Linked DNA regions of Homo sapiens: region 1 is linked to region 2. Evidence: promoter capture Hi-C in human tissues and cell types (Jung and others, 2019). All regions are on one chromosome and are shown on one strand. Each heading gives the region's core, a stretch centred on a gene start or on the middle of the fragment in contact. The rest is flanking DNA. Distances are from core to core; before and after follow the strand shown. Region 1 overlaps ZNF354A (zinc finger protein 354A). Region 2 holds the start of ADAMTS2 (ADAM metallopeptidase with thrombospondin type 1 motif 2).

Region 1 (5,759 bases), core at 1,613-4,112, 630 kb before region 2:
ATTATTTGCATCTGGGGTTATACTGTAAAAAGAGACATTTTAGATCTTTTATATAGTCTCTAATAGTAAACAGAAAGATTACATTTTTATTACTGCAGATTTTATCCTGGCACTTGAAAATTCGTTTGCAATTTTGGAAGCAGGAAATACTTTTGGTGTGTTTCCATTGGTCATTTGAGCTGAAAAGATTGAGTGTGGAAAGTCATTACAATTTCTGCTATGGTTGTTTTATTTTTATCTGAATTTCCTTTCATCGGAAAATTTGTTACTTTATCCGTTTCTTTAGCACTATTTGAGGAAATCATCTATCACTTAGGCTTAGCTGTTAGTATATCCTGCCTTATATCTGACTTTCCAATATGTTCAATACTGAATGAACAATTGTGTACTGTAGAAAGAGCTTCAAAACATCTTTTCTCTGATACCAAATATTTTAAAAATTAATCATGAAACTTATACTTGCATTTTGATTCAAATATACATAAATGAAAATAGGCAATAGGGTAGATCTCATATTAAGTATCCTTAACACAAAATATAAAATAAAAAATAAGTTAATAACAATAATTGAAAATACTAATTTCGATCATCTCACTCACAAGAGTGAAGCATAATTACCAATAAATTGAGGCTGAGCTATTGAAAGGTTGGAAGCTTACAAACTAACAATAAACTTGAACTTGATATGTGACACAGAAAAGTCGAACTTGATGCATGCCTGCAAGGGAGAACTGTGTTTGCAGTAACAGGATCCCTGAAGAAAGCCAGAGCTGATCTTATCCAAAATTTTAAGCAGCTCAGTGTCTGGGACTGGCGAATTTTCAGAGGCAGGGATGTTTATGGACTGTTAGATTTTCAAGCGTGTTAGTGTGGTCACTGGAATTAGACGGTTGTCGACTGGCTAACTTCCAGAAGCACGGTCACTGGAAGGAGGGACTTGCTGACCAACCGTGGTCTAGAAGCAGCACTCAAGTGGCATTCAGAAGCTGGAGGCTGTCAGGAAGTTGATTTCAGAAGCATGGCTGCTGGCAGCGAGGCCATCATTGATTTTTCAGACCACGTGTACTGATCCAAAGATCTAATTATTGGGGATTATTTTACAACTTAGGAATTTGGCCAAAAGAACAGTCTTTTCCTTTCTTTAATACGGAAAACAAGTACTTTTATTCTCACTTCCCCCTTTTGCCTTCCCTCAGTCAAACACATAGGATAAAACATAAGAGATGGTTCAGATCTTTATTTGTGGAGGTATGATTTCCAACTTGTATTGCCACTTAAGCGATTTAAGCGCCAATTACTGAAGCAGAACCGTAGCTCAAAGTGCTGATTTTTCATTAATGAGGGGAGAAACCCTGAATACATTTAAGGCATCCTAACAAAGTTAATACAGGATTCAGGACAAAATCATTAAATACAGGACGTTTGGCAACCCTACCTGTGAGTCAGCTTTCTCCTCACTTGCCACTCTCACCTATTTGCCTATGAAAACCATGCCTTATTTATTCTAATACATGATTATCTGTCTCCTGTTCTCCATCAATGCTGTCCCTGTTTGAGTTGGAACCCTCATTTACCTATTACTTGAATTTAAACAGCCCAGATTTCCTGGGTGGCATCAGTCATCAGCTTTCTTCAACCCCATACGCTTATCTTCTATGGAATTTCCCTTGCTTACCATCTTTGACTCCACCGATTTTACCATAAAATCCAAACTCCTTAGCTTGGCAAATAAGGCCTTTTGTGATTTGGCTTCTGCCTTCTACTCGAGCTTTAACATTTGTCATTTTCCTGCTCACTAGTTCTAAATTAAGTTTTCCAAATGTCCTATTATCCACCTGTGGTTTGGCGCATGCTGTTTCCTCTTAATCGGAATGCTTCTGTCTCCCTCGGAGTTCCTACTATTCTCCCCAAATATAGCCCAGGCATCATTGCCCCTGGAAAGCTTTGATGTCTCCAGGCTTTCTTCATGAGTCTCTTTCTTCATCCTGTGCAAATCTTTACAATATTTTCATAGTGGAACATATTGTCATAACTTATTTGCCTACTGAAACAACAAAAACTGCAATATAATCTGCTTGCTCATTTGCTAGCCCAACTCCATCCCCTTCCCAATTCATGGCTTCTTGAAGAAAAGCCTGTGTCTGTCTTAAAACTTGTACAGTTTTAAAACTTGTAAACTTGTATAGTACCTGCTCCAAAGTTAAAAAATATTTACTGTTGAGAAAAACTTAGGACTGTAATGTCCCCCCTCAAACTGGGAAGGAGCCGAGAGACCAAAGAATGACTCAGACAAGTCCAGCTTGATGAGCAGATGAGTTTATTATGACTTCCATACAGGGCTCTCCTGGACTGCAGCAGGACAGCTCTGGAGATCTGCACCACCTCGCACCTCTAAGCTGCTTTTAAGCCAGTTTTCTGGCTCTTTGCCTCGTGTGTGATTGGACTGTTTGCTTAGTGTGTTCCCAGATACTCTGGGATGTTTGGGTTCTCAGGGACACTTGCTCCTCAGCTGGGCACCATGGCCTCTGCTTACTGTCCAGACTTCAGGGCTCAAGTAGTGGATATAAACCCTTAGGTAACCTGGTAGGGGATCTGTCACACTACACTAAGTTTATGAAACAATTCACATGTCTTGTTTGGGCTGCTGTAACAAAATAACCTCATCATACTAGGTAACTAATAAAATATTTCTCACAGTTCTGGAGGCTGGGAAACCCATTTAAAGTGCTAGCAGGTTTGGTGTCTGGTTATGGCCATCTTGATTCAAAGAAGGTATCTTACCACTGTGCCTTCACATGGCTGAAGGGCAGAACAAGCTCCCTTGGGGCTCTCTGATAAGGGCACTGAGGGCTCCGCCCTTCTGATCTGATCACCTCTTCACACATCCCACTTCATGATACCATCACCTTGGAGGTTAGCATTTGAACACAGGGATTTGGGGGAGACATAAACATTGAGACCATAGCAATGTCCTTTTCAAGAGTTTGCCACAGGTGTTAGATTTGCGAAAGTTCTTCTGATGTGTTCGTTATAAATTTAAAAAATACATATTTAGGGTGGCCGGGCACGGTGGCTCACACCTGTAATCCCAGCACTTTGGGAGGCCGTGGCAGGCAGATCACCTGAGGTCAGGAGTTCAAGACCAGCCTGGCCAACATGGAGAAACCCTGTCTCTACTAAAAATACAAAATAGCCGGGTGTGGTGGCAGGTGCCTGTAATCCCAGCTACTCGAGAGGCTGAGGCAGGAGAATTGCTTGAACCTGGGAGGCGGAGGTTGCAGTGAGCCGAGATCGCACCATTGCACTCCAGCCTGGGTGACAGAGACTCCATCTCAAAATAAAAATAATAATAATAAATACATACATACATATTTAGTAGCTTTAAACCTGAAATTATTGCCTGTTTTTCTATCTAATACAGTTCAGGGCATATAACTGGTACACCTAATAAATGACTTCAGAGAAATAAAATCCAAAACCAAGTTAAGACAGTTGAGTAGAAAATTCACAACTACTAGAACAAAAGACCAGATTTTTCTTTTTCTTTTTTAATGAAATCCATGCATAAGTTTGACATCAGGGTAGGAAAAGGACAAACCCCAGAGACTGAGAGGTAGTTCATAATTCATTTTTCTTTTATTTTGGTCCTTTTCTCTAAAAAGGTACAATTTGATCAAGCTATTAAAATGCTATAAAAATATTACCAGTTTGGTGGTCTTCTAATGAGAAATCTAAAGCACACCTCCCCACCCACTCGGATATCTGTTTCTGATGATCACGTGACATCTAGCATATACGTCTGTAGGAAAAGGGAAAAAGCAAACCCATTTCACAAATGGCTAAAGTCAATGTCTTCAATTGTAAATTCTTCATCTCAGGTTATTTTTTTAAGTGTCTGACAGGCACAAACACTTTCCTCATATCTATTATATAGCTGAGGTTTATCCATGGAATTAAATACCTAATGAGGGCTAAATTATTACAGTTTTTTTCACATCCATTACATTTATTACATCTCTCTCAAGGATGTATTCTTCGATGAGCTTTGGTTTAAGGCTTTCACACATACAAATCTACTTTCTAGGGGTCCTCTTCGATATGAATTTTATAATGATTAGTAAGGGATGACCTATGGTTGAAAAGTTTCCCACATGTATTACATTCATAGGGTTTCTCTCCAGTATGAATTCTCTGATGTGCAATACGTGATGAGCTTTGTCTAAAAGTTTTTCCACATGTATTACATTTAAAGGGTTTTTCTCCTGTATGAATCCTTCGATGCTGAATAAGAGCTGAACTTTGGCCAAAAGATATCCCACATTCCTCACATCGATATGGTTTCTCTCCAGTATGAATTCTCTGGTGATTACTAAGTGATGAGTTACACCTGAATGTTTTCCCACACTCGTTACATTTATAGGGTCTTTCTCCAGTATGCATTCTCTGATGTTGAATGAGAGCTGAACTCTGTCTGAAGGCTTTTCCACATACTTTACATTTACATGGTTTTTCTCCAGTATGAATTCGCTCGTGAATAATAAGTGTTGAGTGGGAGCTTAAGGCTTTACCACATTCATTACAATTATAAAACTTCTCTCCAGTATGAATGATTCGGTGTCTATTAAGTCGTGAAATAGAAGTAAAGCCTTTCCCACATTCATTGCATCTATAGGGCTTTTCTCCGGTGTGAATTCTTTCATGTTGAATAAGAGAGGCACTCTGGCTGAAGGCTCTCCCACATTCACTACATTTAAAAGGCTTCTCTCCAGTGTGAATTCTCTGATGATAACGAAGGGATGAGCTAGACTTAAAGGTGTTGCCACATTCATTACATAAGTAGGACTTCTTTCTAGAATGAATTCTTTGACATCCAGAAAGGGATGTGCTGCAACTAGATGCCTTCCTACCCGGATTATACTTACAAGGGTTTTCTTCAGCATGAATTTTTTGATGTATAAAAAGGCCTGACCTTCGGCTGAAGGATTTACCACATTCTTTACATCTGTAGGATTTCTCCACAGTATGGGTTCTTAGATGTTTATAAAGGGATGTACTGAGAGTAAAGGCTTTCCCACATTCTTTACATATGTAGGGTTTCTCTCCAGTATGCGTTATTTGATGTTGAATAAGAGCTGAACTTTGGCTAAAGGCTTTTGAACATTCTTTACACTTAAATAGTTTCTCTCCACTATGGTTTTTCTCATGTTTACGAAGGGATGAAGTGTTAATGAAGGTTTTTTCACACAGACTACATTTATAGCGTTTATCTGCTGTAATTTTTGGTTGATTAAGTAATTGTGAATTCTGTTTGAGGCTGTTTCCTTGTATTTCACATTTTGGTGGTGTTTTTTCTCTGGGAAGTATCTGTTGCCTAATAAGCACTGACTTTGGGCTGAAGTTTTGGCTCAATTCAGTATTTTTATGGCTTCTTTCTATAGTGGGGATTTTTTTGTGGGTGGCTGAAACTATCTGAAAACTTCCCTTTTTATCCTGCTTTTTCTCTAATCTGCCTTCATATATGTAAGGCTTTTCTAATTTCAAATCCCAAGGTACATTCCTGTTGGATCTTTTCAGTATCAGTCCCTGAAATGAAGAGTCTTGTGTTTGCGTTGACTTTGTGGTTTTATGACTGCTCTTCGATCCTGGAGGGAAAAAAAAAATCAAAAATGTTTCATGTGATATCATAGCATCTGACTACTGAGACTAAAAGTGTAGAAGGAATAAATATTGGTGACATTTAAATAAGACCCTGATATCTG
Region 2 (5,430 bases), core at 2,410-4,909:
AGGCAGGTCCCAGCTCCTCTTCCAACCCCAATATTCTTCCCAGCTCTGTCTGGTACATGGGACACTTCAGCAGGCCTGTCCTGCCCAGGCCAATCCACACCTGGTACCTCTGCACACGCTCCTCCCTCTGCCCGGGTTGCCAACCTGCGTCTTTTCCAGCTGGCCACTCATTCTTCCAGCCCCCATTCAAACAGCCCCCCAGGAGCACACTCTCCAAGTCCTGGCCAGAGTGTCCGTCAGCCACCCTGACGACAGGAGCCCTGGGTGGGTACCAGACCTGCCTCATTGCTGACCAGTACAGGGGATAAACATATGAGAAGGTGCTGGCTGAAAAATGAATCACCAAATGAACTGCTGAATGAATGAAACAGTGACAAGTCCTCCCCAAAATGCTCTCCATCAGGAATGCATAGTACACAGGTGTTGGCCCACCAACAGACTGCAACCCCATGTCAACTCCCACCACCTTACCTCACCCTAAGTCCGCAGCAAACATCTCCTTTCATTTAGGAAATTAACCTCCAGCGTAAAATGGGACACACCTCTGAGGCCCAGGATGTCCTCAGAGACAGTGGGCGATGTCAAGGGCTCACCATTTTAACCCAGCTCCTCCAGGGATATTTACAGTTGTTTGCAATATGGCCAAGTTCTAACTAAATCCAGCCAAAGGCAGTGATTTTCCAAAGCAACAAGTGATATTTTCTGTGTCTCCATAAAAAGAATGACAGTGGTTGCAGAGCCCTGGTGTAATTGCCGGCTCTGCAGACTGTAGGATGAGCCTCAGCTGCCCGAGTACGGGCGTGCTCAGGGGCCACGGGGGCTGGGAGAGTGGCCACTCACTCGGGGCAGGAGTTCCCTGAGTAGCAATTAGAGCGGAACCCATGGTGGGCGGCTTCAGATGTCTGGCCAGCACAGCCAGCCTGACCACCACACACCCAATCCAAAATAGAAAACTGCAGTGGCCTCTGCTGTGTGCCAGGCCCCGGGCAGCCGGACAGAGCACCGCCAATGTCAGCCTCCTCCCTCAGCATCGATCCAGGCTTCCTCTGAGGCCCCCTTGTGCTGAGCCACGGTCCCTCCTGCCCTCTCCAGGAAGCAGAGCTTCCCAGAGCTCCAGTCACAGGACTAGAGAGGCGCAGGCAGTCTCAAAAGGGATCCCCTAGCCTCTCTCTTGTCCTTCAGGCGCTGCCCCCAAAAGATCGAGCAGCTCATGGGCACTAGAGCCTTCATTTCCAAATGCACCCCTCAGCTCAAAATAGAGAAAACCAACTTTTCAAAGAACCAGCTGGAGTTCAACAGGAAACCACAGCAGAAAAACCAATGATTCCCGGTCAGCCAAGGGGCAGAGGGCTAACTGGGCATTTCAGCATCACTGCCAGCTCCCTGGGCTGGTATTACCCGCACGCAAGGAAACAGGAAGACTGACTGCCAGCCCATAAGTCCACCACACACATATCACGCCAGTATGCACAAGGACGGACACAAACTCAACAGATGCTCAACACACTGATGTGCAGAAACCCAGACACATACGTGCACAAGAGACACTGGCACACGCACATGTTCACACAGGTGCACGGGCACCCAGATGCAGGTACACACCAACGTTCCACAACACATGTGCACACACTCACAAAGGTACACACACATACACGGACCCACCCCCGGATGCAAGCCAGAGACCTGTTCAGGCAGGCAAAAGAGAGAGGCGCACGCTCCTGCCTGCTGAGCCTTTTGGAGACCCGGGCGCTCCCCATGCATAAATGGCCCCCTGCTCAGACCAGTCAAAACAACCTGCTTTCCAGCCAAGCCCTTCAGTTGGAGCACGAGGCTCACTAAAGCACGGGAAGGGCGCGGAAAGTCCTCAGCGCAGGCCTTGCCCTCCCAAGGGACTCCCAGGTAACCCTTTTCCAAAACCCAGGCGAGAGCAGCGGAGAGAAAGGAGCTAGAGAAGTGCGTACTCACCAGCCCATCGCAGTTGCTGAGCGCCACAGAGGAGGCTTCGGCTAGGCCGGCCACGTCTCCGACGTAGAGACAGCTCCCGAGCAGGGGCTCCACGCGGGTGGTGCCCTTCTCGCCCTGCCACTCCATAGTGGCCCCGGGCGCCACGAGGCGGGCGTTGGGCCGCAGCCGCAGGTGCAGGTCTCGGCCAAAGACCGTGACATTGTAGAAGAGGTGACTGCCAGGCTCCTCCTCGTTGCCTCCGGGGAAGCTCGGGGTCCGGACCGGGGCGGCCCTGCGGGCTCGTACCCCTGCTCTGGACGTAGCTGCCGACACCACGTGGGACACCAAGCGGCCCTGGGCGTCAGTGCGCACGGGCACCGCCAGGATGCGCTCCGCTCCGTGCCCCAGGGGCCCGCCTGCAACGGGAAGGGGCGTTAGATCGGCGGAGACCACGGAGCCCCAGTGCCTCAGAGACCCGCCGGCAAGCCACGCCCCCCCAGACCCCGCCCCACTGCGAAGGGAAGGGGCATTCCGCCAGGCGACCCCAGAAGCCAGCCTGCACCTCCCCGGCTTTCCTGCAACCGGGAAGGGGCGTTAACAGGGCCACCACTCCGGGGCTCCGCCACTCCCCAGCCGTTCCCTCCTCCGGAGACCTTGCCTGCCAAGAGCTCTGCCCCCTGCCCCGTTCAGGGTTGGGGCTCGGTGGGAACCTCCCCGTGCCCGAAGGGACGACCCCGTCAGAGAGTCCCCCGACCCTTGCACCTACCGTCCTTGGCAGGACGTGGAGCTGCTCGGAAGCCATTCCGGGTTGGCCCCCTTACCCGTGTGCCACGACCCCTCGGCGGGCCCCTGCCGCCCGAGTGCCCTCACCGCCAGCCTCCGGAGCGGCGGAGTCTCGGCTTCCCCGAGCACGAGCGGCCTGTCCTGCCTGTCCAGCTCCCGCTCAGCCCGCTGCCGGCCCCGTCTCCCCGAGCGCCCGAGGACTGGGAGGGGTGGAACAGGGTCCCTCCGATCTCCGGGGATTCCCTGCGGGGCGCCCCAACCAATCCTTAGGGCCCAAGGCTACGCGCTCGGCAGCCGGCTCCTCCGGAGCGTCCCCGGACGCGAGCCCCGGCGCCGCCTCGCCCTGGCTCCCCCCTCGGACCCGCTGGGGCTGACTCTGCGCTCTTGGCCGCGGGGCTTTTCCCGGCCCTCCGTCCCCACCCTCCGCGACTCAGGAGCCGCCAGTGCTCCGAGGCTCCCCCGGCCCAAGGCGCTCGGGGGCGGTGCGGGGCGCCCCCTGCGCGACCAACCCGGCCCCGAAGTTGGCCAACTTGGCCCCGGGCGGGGCGCGCGGAGTTTGCCCAAGTCAGGCTGGACGACGCCTGGGGAGGGGGCGGCGGGGCACGCGGGACAGGGCCAGGCCGGCGGGGGTCCCGGGGAGTAGGGGCCGGGCCGCACCTACCTGGGGGGTCGGCGGCGGCGGCGAGCCTGGCGTTCGCGGGCGGCGGCGGCGGCGGCAGGAGCGGCGGCGGCAGCAGCAGCAGCAGCAGCAGCAGCGCGGGGCAGAGCAGGCGGCGAGCGGCTCCCGCCGGCGGATCCATGGCAGCCGGACTGCAGCCGGGGCCCCGCACTCGCAGCCGGCGCGAAAGTTCCCCGCGAGCCGCCCAGCCCACATCTGGGGGCAGCTGGAGCCGCCCGCAGCTGCAGCACCGCAGGGCGCGGGGCGGAGGAGGCGAGGCGCGGAGGGGCGGGCGGGGGAGCGCGGAGGGAAGGCGGGGAGAGGGAAGGAGCGAGCGAGCGAGGGAGGCAGGCGGGAGGGAGGGAGGCGAGCGAGGGGGAGGGCGGGGACGGCGGGCGCCTCAGCCTGCGGTGACCCGGCGCATCTTGGCGCGGCCGCCGCCGCCGCCCGCTTCCCTCTTCGCGCCGCCGTCGCCGCGGTGCCGGGCTCGCAGCGAAGCAGAGACACCCCGAGGCGGCGGCAGAGAAGCGCCGCGGGCCGGGCCGGGGGAGCCCCGCCGCCAGCCACCCCAGGGGCACAACCTCCGAGGAGCGGCGCCGGCCGAACGTCCCCACCTAGAGAGCCCTTGGGGTGCCGGGTCCCACCCATCAGCCCTGGAATTCAAGGGGTGCATCCCCCTGTCTCTGTGCTCTGGGGCAGGACAGGGTGAGGGAATGAAAGGGGAGGGGGGACTGACTACTGGGTCCAAGGTCTGAGCCAGGCCGAATGCCCAAATAGAGGCCGCAAAGGCCAGAAGATGCTGTTAGGAGGGTACACCCAGGGCGCGACCCCAAAGATCAACTTTTGCCCTTACTGAGAGAGGCAAGGCTCCTTCAGTCCCCAGTTCCTCTTCCTCTGAAGTCCCTGTCCCCTGTCCCCCATCTGCCTTCCCATCCCTCCGCTGCAGCCTCAGCACAGCCTCTTCCTGCCAGACCTGGGCTCTCTGCCCATGAGCACAGTCAGGCTCCTGCCCTCACCTGTCCTCAACCCCACGTATGCATTCTGTCCTCCCGCCATTGCACTCCCGGCCCCCAACCTGAAATGGCCTCTCCAAGCTCTGCCTACCTTTTCCACCCAAGCATCCAAGGACACCTGGGCCCATTCTGGGGCCAGTTTGCTGTTAGAGCCCGTTGCCAACCGGAACCCCTCCCCAGTCCCTCCTCTCCAGCAAGGCCCTGATCCTCCCATGCTGTCTGAGCTCAGCGGCCTCTCTCCAGGGCCTGCCTGAGAGCCCCCTCTCAGGCTGTTGATCATCTCTGCCCTGGGACCCCCAATTTCTGCCTCACTTCCCCAGAGGGTGAACACCCACCCCTTTGATTTTCTCATTTGCCCTGCCCCAGGTCTGTGTGGCCAGGGCTTTGGTCTTTGCTTTGGCCAGGGGCAGAGGACCCGGAGATGACTCAGGCCTCTCCCTGCTGGCCAGGAGGTCCCAGTCGTTGGGGGAAACACGACTTACACAGCAGGCTCTAACTGTGATCTCACGTCCTTGGTTCTTTCGATTGTGGGTCCTGGGTGTGAGAGCATCGCAGCTGGACAGCCATCTTCACCTGCAAGCTGTACTCTTTCTGTGTCACCTAAGGGTGCCCGAGGCTGGATCCAGCTCCCAGGCATGGTGAGATGTCACATGGAAATTTAGATTGGTAACTTTTCTTGAGATATTGGAAGATGTGGCCACGCTAGCCCCACAGTCCTGCTTAGCAACCATTAAATGGGCACTTACCTTGCAGTTTGTGGCAGGTCCCGCCTCTCCTCACTCTCTGTAGGCATCTGCTCTCGTGACCTGTGATGACCCAACTGGTTCCAGAGAAAGTTGGAACTGGAATCCTAGTATACCACAGAGATGACTCCAGAGCTGGGCATCCAGGAGGACTTCCTGTAAGAGGTGGCATGAGTTGAATTGTGAAGGCTGGGGGAGCTAGGCAGCCCAGAGTTGGGTCCAGCCAGTTGCTGTCCTGGAACCCATGACGCATTCCTCCTGTGGTTGTCAGCGCTTCCATCCTCTTCGA

What was found. Contacts are between HindIII fragments. The study calls those that stand out against the background at their distance.
Region 1: a fragment that was not itself captured here is called in contact with the fragment with the promoter of ADAMTS2 in region 2 in 1 of the 25 tissues and cell types used here (lymphoblastoid cells).

The regions. Positions count from the first base shown.
Region 1 is chr5:178,707,980-178,713,738 of GRCh38, forward strand. It overlaps ZNF354A (zinc finger protein 354A), which reads right to left. Exons shown (of 5, transcript NM_005649.3): 5 at 3,533-5,642. The coding sequence ends at 4,081. Among named protein-coding and RNA genes, the nearest start is that of MSANTD5, 13 kb to the left of the region's middle. The HindIII fragment of the contact is 7,128 bases long and covers 1-5,759 here.
Region 2 is chr5:179,341,802-179,347,231 of GRCh38, forward strand. ADAMTS2 (ADAM metallopeptidase with thrombospondin type 1 motif 2) reads right to left here and starts at 3,660. Exons shown (of 22, transcript NM_014244.5): 1 at 3,389-3,660; 2 at 1,966-2,360. The coding sequence starts at 3,527. LOC105377759 (a long non-coding RNA gene) reads right to left here. Exons shown (of 3, transcript XR_941311.3): 2 at 5,145-5,297; 3 at 4,560-4,978. The HindIII fragment of the contact is 12,907 bases long and covers 1-5,430 here.